Regions from separate parts of the Homo sapiens genome. Here all the other regions are linked to region 2. The links are contacts of gene promoters, found by promoter capture Hi-C in blood cells and fetal thymus (Javierre and others, 2016). All regions are on one chromosome and are shown on one strand. Each heading gives the region's core, a stretch centred on a gene start or on the middle of the fragment in contact. The rest is flanking DNA. Distances are from core to core; before and after follow the strand shown.

What was found. Contacts are between HindIII fragments. The CHiCAGO score rates a contact against its expected background, and 5 or more counts as called.
Region 1: the fragment with the promoter of SREK1IP1 here is called in contact with the fragment with the promoter of CENPH in region 2 in 1 of 17 cell types (monocytes); the score reaches 5.4 in monocytes.
Region 3: a fragment that was not itself captured here is called in contact with the fragment with the promoter of CENPH in region 2 in 2 of 17 cell types (monocytes and neutrophils); the score reaches 8.4 in monocytes.

The regions. Positions count from the first base shown.
Region 1 is chr5:64,767,423-64,770,465 of GRCh38, forward strand. It overlaps SREK1IP1 (SREK1 interacting protein 1), which reads right to left and starts at 1,269. Exons shown (of 5, transcript NM_173829.4): 1 at 1,083-1,269. The coding sequence starts at 1,095. CWC27 (CWC27 spliceosome associated cyclophilin) reads left to right here and starts at 1,508. Exons shown (of 14, transcript NM_005869.4): 1 at 1,508-1,766. The coding sequence starts at 1,725. LOC124900985 (a long non-coding RNA gene) reads right to left here and starts at 1,074. Exons shown (of 4, transcript XR_007058787.1): 1 at 1-1,074. RefSeq lists enhancers at 553-1,279, 651-1,850, 1,002-1,091, 1,242-1,561, 1,280-2,004 and a silencer at 1,020-1,314. The HindIII fragment of the contact is 4,415 bases long and covers 1-1,610 here.
Region 2 is chr5:69,187,842-69,191,265 of GRCh38, forward strand. CENPH (centromere protein H) reads left to right here and starts at 1,742. Exons shown (of 9, transcript NM_022909.4): 1 at 1,742-1,927. The coding sequence starts at 1,794. It overlaps LOC112267932 (a long non-coding RNA gene), which reads right to left and starts at 1,636. Exons shown (of 2, transcript XR_002956215.2): 1 at 1,150-1,636. RefSeq lists enhancers at 1,354-1,593, 1,521-1,815 and a silencer at 1,674-1,793. The HindIII fragment of the contact is 12,435 bases long and covers 1-2,316 here.
Region 3 is chr5:65,576,635-65,579,733 of GRCh38, forward strand. PPWD1 (peptidylprolyl isomerase domain and WD repeat containing 1) reads left to right here. Exons shown (of 11, transcript NM_015342.4): 6 at 245-435; 7 at 2,790-2,979. Among named protein-coding and RNA genes, the nearest start is that of PPWD1, 15 kb to the left of the region's middle. The HindIII fragment of the contact is 2,456 bases long and covers 439-2,894 here.

The DNA of each region.
Region 1 (3,043 bases), core at 19-2,518, 4.4 Mb before region 2:
CCAGTGCCTGGCACACAGTAGGCTTAATAAAGAGTGTACATTTCCTCTCTCACAGCTCCAGATGTACTCCTCCGCAAACTTCAGTTAGTACAAAAGCACAGTGTTCCAATAACAGCTATCTGTAGAAGGAGGTTCAAAAAGGCTGCCACAGAATAAAGAACCTGGTCAAATAATACTGGGAAGTGCAGGTTTAAACAAAGTTAGGGTTCTGAACCATAGTAATTCTATAGTTCATAGTAATTCTATAGCAATTCATAGTATTCTATTCTAATAGAATAGAATCTTTTCTATTACTAAAGTGCGCTGGGAATTTCCAAGTTGGGAGGTGGGGTGGAGAAGTGTGTATTTCTGAAAATGTCTCCTGCAATCAGTGTTCTGCAGTGGCAAAGCTGGTTTGAGGAGATGCTTTCCGCTACTAGAACTTCCAAGTAAGCTGGTAGTTGAGGACGAGAAAATCTTTTAAGTAATTATTCTGCAGAGTTCACCGTTTTTAGGTCAGTAACTTCTGGACATAGAATTTGAGAGTTAGAAGAAATCTTATATATAATTCAACAAAGCTCCTTCTTTTTATAAGGAAACTGAGGCCCAGAAGCACAAAGCGACCAATCTATGGCCACGGAGCAGCTACATACAACAGGAAGAGCTAGGAGTAGAACCCGCACACCCGGTGGGTCCTAGCGACTTCTAAGACAAACGATGCCTCCGGTTACCTGGGTCGGCCAAGTGTTCCCACTTCAAGTTTTAGTTTTAAGCCATACCACAGTTAAGGTAGTTTTTCTCGGCCGCTTGCCCCCTTAGGCCTACAGTTACAGTCTCTCCCTCCTCCCTCCCTTCCACAATACACTTTCCCTGTAATCCCAAGCAGCTGGGGCTTGGCTCCTGGGGGGAAGATAGTTATTTTCTTTCCTTCAGAGTTTATGTTTGGAGTGTAAACTTTTTCATGTAAACAAAACAAACCTGTGAATTTTAAGGCCTCCGCCTAAATCCCCATGGGCGCTGCTCCGTACACGCCGCACCCTACCCTACCCTCCCTTGCGCTCCCTTCGGAGCTCGGACGCAGAGGCCCTGTAATTGCTCCTTACCTGGGACTGCCATGACGGTGGTAAGAGGGGTAACTCGAGCCTCTGGCTTTCGAAAAGGCGCTTGCTTCCCGCCAGCTGTGAGAACAAGGCACAGTCAAAGCGGCGTTTTCCTTCCCCCAGCGCAGCAGCACCCTCGCTACGGTCGGGAAGGGCCTGTACGCCTCTAGCGACGGCAGAACCAGTAGATGCGGATGCAGTTTCCGGACGAGTCATATTGCAGAAGACACATGGTCCGAACCATTACTGATAGTTTTGGAGGGGGAGTTAGTTTGATCTGCACACGAGAGTAGTGTAAACACCGCCAACACTTATGAAGTGTCCCTTCTAATATTGTAATACAAATAACATAAATAACATTAAGCTATGGTAACTTTACGGACTTTTCTCGTTCCCTGGAGTACATTGGAATAACCCTTCTCAGGGTTAGCGGTGCTCGGGTCCGGTAACAACATGGCGGCGTCCGTGAGGGGCTCCTTTGGGCAGGGGTAGTGTTTGGTGTCCCTGTCTTGCGTGATATTGACAAACTGAAGCTTTCCTGCACCACTGGACTTAAGGAAGAGTGTACTCGTAGGCGGACAGCTTTAGTGGCCGGCCGGCCGCTCTCATCCCCCGTAAGGAGCAGAGTCCTTTGTACTGACCAAGATGAGCAACATCTACATCCAGGAGCCTCCCACGAATGGGAAGGTGAGAGCCTCATCTAGGGAACTTGGGGTCCTGGGATCCCCAAAGTGAGATTTCCCGGATTTGGGGTGGGGAGTGGGTTTCAGGATCTCGTGGTAGGAAGAGACCACGAGAAGTGTTGTCTTTACTCCTGCATGTGGACAATGTTGCATCGAAACACTGATGTTGGTACTTTTCAGGATGTACTTGAAGAAGTCAAGTGGAGATTTCTCTACCTACCAGCATTCCGGTCCTATTTAATGCTTTAACCCAACTCATGCAGCCGATTTCTGGGGTCTTAGGTTTTTAAACAGACATTTTTGAGTTTGATATATTCTTTGCTTAACTAAGGTCATTCATTCTCCATTTCTTCTACAATCATTAATTGAACGCCTGCGAGGCACTGGGCACTGTACTAGGCGCCGGAGATACAAAGATGGATGGGTAAGGTAGTTGTTTTCCCGGAAAAGCTTATAGTTTAGTTTGTGAGACAGACAGGTAAACAAAAGCCTGTATGTCTGATAAGCGTGCTTGTGGAGAAGAGACCAGGTTGCTATGGCGGTACTGAGTAGTGAACAACTGGGGAAGTTAGGAAAAGCCTCATGGAAAAGATATCTTTTGAGCTGGTTTTAAAACCTGAGATGACTGTCAGTCAGAGAAAGTGGGAAATGGGGACTATTACCACATTAGAATGGGGAAAGGTTTCTCTGATTGATTTGATGGCTAATGTATGCCAATTCCCATCCAAGATGTTTGTATGCTGTACAAGGCAGAAGAGTCTGTTGTGGAATAAGTGTCACCTGAATTCTTAAATTGAGACCTAGCTTATATCACATATGAAATTTGATGAATCAGCATATTGGAGAAAATGAGATTGGAAGTATATAGTTGAATTAAGATAAGCTAAATTTACACAACATACCATCCTGTTTGTTACATGATTGCATCATAAATAATTTATACAGTCTTTTATTCATTGACATTTGATAATGTAATGAGAGCAATTTAAAAGTGAAACCAAAAATGCTGTAATTCCCAGCAAAAATGTAATGGATATTTTATGGGCAGACCAATTCTTTCAATTCTTTGTTTGAACTTCTCCTGGGCATTGTAGATTAGTATGTCCATCCCACCCCTCACCTATCTTATTTAATATCAATGTGAAAACCCAAAATACCTACCTCCTCCTATTTCCAAATGTTTCTTGAGGGCAATATCACCCCCAGTTAATAAACACTGGTAGAGATTGAATAGATTTACCATCCTGCCAGACAGGGCCTTCACACTTGCTGTTCCTCTGT
Region 2 (3,424 bases), core at 492-2,991:
CCATCTCAGCCTCCTGAGTAGCTGGGACCACAGGTCTAAGTCACCACACCTGTTGTTTTTTTGTTTGTTTGTTTGTTTTTGTTTTAAGTAGAAACGAGGTCTCACTATGCTGCCCAGGCTGTTCTCCTGACTTCAAGCGATCCTTCCGCTTTGGCTTCCCAAAGTGCTGGGATTACAGGCGTGGGCCATCGCCACCAGTCCATTCTGTGTCTTTTGAACTGTTTTTTTGTTTGTTTGTTTGTTTTTCGAGAAGGAATCTTGCTCTGTTGCCCAGGCTGGCGTGCATCTCTGGTGTGATCTCGGCTCACTGCAACCTCTGCTTCCCGGGATCAAAGGATTCTCCTGCCTCGGCCTCCCCAGTAGCTGGGATTACAGGTGCCCACCACCACGCCTGGCTAATTTTGTATTTTTAGTAGAGACGAGGTTTCTCCATGTTGGTCAGGCTGGTCTCCAACTCCTGACCTCGAGATCCTCCCCCCTCGGCTTCCCAAAGTGCTGGGATTATAGGTGTGAGCCACAGCGCCCGGCTTTTTTTTTTTTTTTTGAGACGGAGTTTCACTCTGTCACCCAGGCTGAAGTGCAGTGGCGCGATCTCAGCTCACTGCAACCTCCGCCCCCCCGGGTTCAAACGATTCTCCTGCCTCAGCCTCCTGAGTAGCTGGGATTACAGGCGCCCGCCACCACACGCAGCTAACTTTTGTATTTTTAGTAGAGACGGGGTTTCACCATGTTGGCCAGGCTGGTCTTGAATTCCTGACTTCAGGTGATCCACCCGCCTCAGCCCCCAAAGTGCTGGGAGTACAGGGGTGAGCCACCACGCCCAGCGAATTTAACTTTTGTCAGGAGCCGTATTACATTGACAATGGAGAGGAAGAAAACAGCACAGTATGATCAAGTTTAACTAGTGGGTAATTAGCTGTAAAAGAACTCTCGACTCTTGTTCAAAGAGGTTCAAGCTGCTGTGCTTGTGCGGCAAGGACAGTGTCCAAATGAAAAACTACAAATCAGTCATCTGTCCTTCATTTTCTCCATTCCCCCCACTCACTACACAGCTAAGAAAGCTCAAAGGTACCCTGCAGACACTCAAAACTTGAGGGCACGCAACTCTCAGTTACGAGTGGTGGCAATCATAATGACAGAATGAAGTACCAGTGCAAGAAACTGGAAGCGTGTGGATGTCTCCAGGCTGGAAGTCTGGGTTCGAAATGTCTGCAATGCCTCGCACTTGTGGCCCGTCCCTGATCTTCAGAAGCCACTGGTTTCTCCGCCAAACAAAGGGTATGCACCTCATGGGCTCAGGTCAAAAAAGTCTTCTAAACAACCCTCTAATGTTTATCTTTCACAGCCTGCCGGGCACACCCATCTTCAAAGGCAGAGGACGGAAAAGTGCCAAGATGGATGGACATATGGCTGTCGCCGCACTCCCGTGTCCAAGCGCCAAGGCCGAATGACCACTTAGGTCAGGAGATTTTTCCCCTCCAGGCTGCTGTTCCCGGGAGATGTCCCAACGTCTCTAGTCCAGCCCCTAACTCAGCACTCTACACATCCGACGCTTAACGAAAGCTATTCCAACTTTTTACCAGCCGTCTGCAGTTATTTTCACCAGTAGAGCCCGGATGAAAGAGGAGCCCGTAGTAACCACGGCAACCGAAAAACAAGGCGGAAAGGGTGGGGCCCTGGGCGGAAGGGGCGGGGCCCTCGGGCCTTTTCCCGGCGTCCATTTAGTGGCGGGAAAAGCGACCTTTTCTGAGCGCGTTTGCCTGTTGAGTGGTAGCCTTTCCCCTCAACCAGCAATGGAGGAGCAGCCCCAGATGCAAGACGCCGACGAGCCCGCGGACTCCGGAGGGGAAGGCCGGGCAGGCGGGCCACCGCAGGTCGCCGGCGCCCAGGCGGCGTGCAGCGAGGACCGCATGACCCTGCTCCTCAGGTTGTTCCCTTTGGCCTCCTCAGCCGGGGCCAAGTGGGCGTTGTGGCCCGGAACTCCGCCCTTGCTCAGAAGGGCTAGGGTTCGAATTCACGCTCGGTCACGTCAGGTCTCCGTGATTGCCTCATTCACTTAAACTGTTGAAGCTCTTTCTTCATCAGCGAAAAGGAGAGAAAAATGACCCCCTGGAGAGAGGTTACAAGGGTTAAATGAGATAGTCTAGGAAAGTGTTGAGCACAGTGCCCCGGGCCCTTAGAAGCTGTAATTTCTCCTCCTGTTTCCCCGCCCTCCCCCTACCTCTCTGGTTTACAGACAAATTGAATGCCAGAGCTAAACTGGAAGGAAGGTGCCCCTACCATTTCTTTTAGAACTACGACCCTTTGTAACCCAGAAGCTTTATATGTTATAAATTCTACTAAGCGGACGGTGTTTATACTTTTCCACTAAGCGGTTGCTGGGGAAGATTCGATGAGAAGGGACATTCGTCTTCTAAACTAGTGAGCAGGAGAAGGTCCTGGGCCAAATCTGCCTAACTGCCTATTTTTGTGTGACCACTCAAGCTAAGAATAGTTTTTATGTTTAAGTGTTGCAGGGAAAAGATCATAAAAATATTTCATAACACGTGAACTCTATTAGAAATTCAAGTTTCAGTTTCCATAAACAGTTTTATTGGAGTACAACTTTCCTGCCACAAGGGTGGAATTGAGTAGCTAAAACAGAGACCGTGTGACTCACAAACCCTAAAAAATTTACTATCAGGTCCTTTACAGAAAAAAATTTGCGGTCCTCTGTTCTATATCATAACAGAGGTAGTTTTAAAAAAATCATTATTGGCTGAGCGCGGTGGCTCACGCCTGTAATCCCAACACTTTGGGATGCCGAGGCAGACGGATCACCTTAAGTCAGGAGTTCAAGACCAGCCTGGCCAACCATGGCCAACATGGTGAAACCCCGTCTCTACTAAAAATACAAAAATTAGCTGGGCGTGGTGGCGGGCGCCTGTAATCCCAGCTACTCAGGAGGCTGAGGCAAGAGAATTGATTGAACCCGGGAGGCAGAGGTTGCAGTGAGCAGAAGATTGTGCCATTGCACTCCAGCCTGGGCAATAGAGCAAGACTCTTGACTCAAAAAAAAAAAATTAATTACCATTTTTTTCTTTCTTAAATGTTTTGAAAAATGAAAAGATGTCTATTTCTTTTTTATTGTTTTTTCCTCCTCACCCTTGCTGTCATCTTAAATTACCATTTGCTCATAGTTTTTCTACTTATGTATGATTTTTGGATTTATAGAACAACTGAAAAACTATATGAATTAGTAATCCAAGGATTAGTATCTTTGTTATTTTTCTGTATCTCCTGATAAAAATCTGTGTTTGTAAATACAGTGGTTTGGGGTTTAATCATTTTGGTCTATTCTTTGTATAGCATCCTCAGTTCAGTCTGGCCTATTAAAAATAATCTTAAGCGGCCGGGTGCGGTGGCTCACGCCTGTAATCCCAGC
Region 3 (3,099 bases), core at 417-2,916, 3.6 Mb before region 2:
AAAATGCTGGGATTAGAGGCATAAGCCACCATGCCCAGCCTGAAATACTATTTTTTAGTGATTGGACTTACTAATGTCTATTTCATATTGTTTAGAATCCCTCTTAAGAAGTACAAACAGTTAGTGGCTCTTAATATGTATTCTGCTTCTATTTAAATTCTCATTGCATATATAGATAGATGGGTTGATATAGATATAGGTATATGTATATAGAGTTTTTGTTACTAAATGGTTTATTTCCTAGATGTTTACTGAACTGCAACAGATGAGGCAACAGTTACCAGACATGGAATTTGGCCGACGAATGGCTGTAGAACGTGAGTTGGAGAAGGTTGATGCTGTAAGATTAATTAATATAGTTTTTGATGAAACTGGACACTTCGTGCTGTATGGAACAATGCTGGGCATTAAAGTTATAAATGTAGAGACAAACCGGTAAGCTTTAATATGAGGTATGTTTTTTAAAAATGTGTTTGTGGGGGACCATTTCCTCCATCATGGGAACAGTGGGAGTATTGTTTGTTCCAAGAAAAGTGGAATGGCCCCAAATGTCTAAACTTAACCAAATGTTTTGACTGGATTTTTCTGTGGTCTCTTGGTTGTTTATAATCTTATGTAGAAAGTTTCCACTCATGTTTGTAAAAGAAATGGAAAGAAGATATGCATAGTTTCAAGTTGTTGTGTGTTTTTTTTAACAAGTTTGTCTGTCTTTTGCTTATTGATTTAAATTAGCCTGGTTCATGTTAAATGTTGCCAAAGATTTTAACCACAGAATTCAGCATTACTTCCTGCTAGACATAAAATCAAAAGTTAAAATGCATGAAACCACAGTAAGCCTTTTTTGTGAAAACAGTCCATTTGGTCTTAGTACAAAATAGCTACAATCAGATACTCTCACTGAATGTAAATGAACAGAACTTAATATTTTAAGGAGAAAAAAATGTCCTGTACATTTCCATGTATAAACATATTTATATTGTAGTTCTTGGCAATACAAAATCTTTGAAGTTTTGCAGAACAGTTAACAGACATGGAATTTTAATAAGAATAGGTTAAAACTGTATAAACAAATGATTGATTGTTTTTAATAGACCTTACTTTTTTGAACAGTTTTAGGTTCACAGCAAAATTAAGAGGAAGATACAGAGATTTTCCATATACCCTCTGCCCCAACACATGCATAGCCTCCCCATTATCAACGTCCCCCACCAGAGTGGTCCATTTGTTCCATTGATGAACCTACATTGACACCCAGAGTCCATAGTTTACATTAGGGTTCACCCTTGGTGTTGTATATTCTATAGGTTTGGAGAAATGTATAATGGCATGTATCCACCATCATATTATCATATAGAGTAGTTTTACTGCCTTCAAAATCCTCTGCTCTGACTGTTCAACCACTGATCTTTTCACCATCTCCATAGTTTTGCCTCTTCCAGAATGTGATATAGCTAAAATCATACAGTATGTAGTCTGTCCAGATTGGCTCCTTTCGGTAATATGCATTTAAGTTTCCTCCATGCCTCACCACAGCTTGATAGCTCATTTCTTTTTAGCACTGAATAATACTCCATTGTCTGGATGTACCACAGTTGATCCATTCACGTACTGAAAGACATCTTGGTTGCTTCCAAGTTTTGGCAGTTATGTATAAAAGCTGCTATAATCATCTGTGTACAGGTGTTTGTGTAGTCATTTCAGCTCCTTTTGGTAAATACCAAGGAGCACAATTGCTGGATCATATGGTAACAGAATGTTTAGTTTTGTAACAGCCAAACTGCCTTTCGAAGTGGCTATACTCTTTTTGCATTCCCACCAGCAATGAATGAGTGTTCCTGTCACTCCACATCTGTGCCACCATTTGGTATTGTCAGTGTTCCAGATTTGGGCCATTTTAATAGATGTGTAATGGTATCTTGTTTTAGTGTGGATTTCCCTGGCAACATATGAGGTGGAGTATCTTTTCATATGCTATTTACCATTTGTATATCTCTTTGATGAAGTATATGTGAAGGTCCTTGGGACATTTTTTAATTGGGTTGTGTTCTTATTGTTGTGTTTTAAGAGTTCTTTATATATATGTATATACATATATATATACATATATATATACACACATATATGTGTATATATATATACATATATATGTGTATATATATATACATATATATGTGTATATATATACTTTTTTTTAAAAAAAGAGTTTTTTATATATTTTGGATAACAGTCCTTTATGAGCCGTTCTCCTAGTCTGTGACTTTTCATTCTCTTGATTGGTTTTTTGTTGTTGTTGTTTTTTATTGAGATGGAGTCTTGTTCTGTCACCCAGGCTGGAGAGCAGTGGCACGATCTCGGCTCACAACCTCTGCCTCCTGAGTTCAAGTGATTCTTGTGTCTCAGCCTCCCTAGTAGTTGGGATTACAGGTGCCTGCCACCATGCTTGACCAATTTCTTGTATTTTTAATGGCGATGGGGTTTCACCACGTTGGCCAGGCTGGTCTCGAACTCCTGACCTCAAGTGATCTGCCTGCCTCGGCCTCCCAAAGTGCTGGGATTACAGGTGTGAGCCACCGTGCCTGGCCTCATTTCTGTTTTTTAACCTGAAAATTATAGCTGCCTACCAGTTTAAATTGATACCTTTTGGGGGGTAGAGAAACACTTTTAAAAATCTTTCACTAGTTATTTTGTACATAGATAAGATAGTTGATTCCCAGCTTTTATCTGTAAAGTTGTCATAATTGGAATTAACTTCGGTGATTCTGTTGTATAAAACATTGTTATATTTTTAGGTGTGTGCGGATTTTAGGCAAACAAGAAAATATTAGAGTGATGCAATTGGCTTTGTTCCAGGGGATAGCCAAAAAGCATCGTGCTGCAACTACTATAGAAATGAAAGCTTCTGAAAATCCTGTTCTTCAGAATATTCAAGCTGACCCAACAATAGTCTGTACATCATTCAAAAAGAATAGATTTTATATGGTATGTGTAAGTACTAGGAGATTAGACGGTAATGTTCCTTCCAGTTTGGTTTGACTTTTCTTTGTTTGTACCTTCAACTGAAGAGAATGTTGGCACTAATAGCAGACTTCCTAAACAACC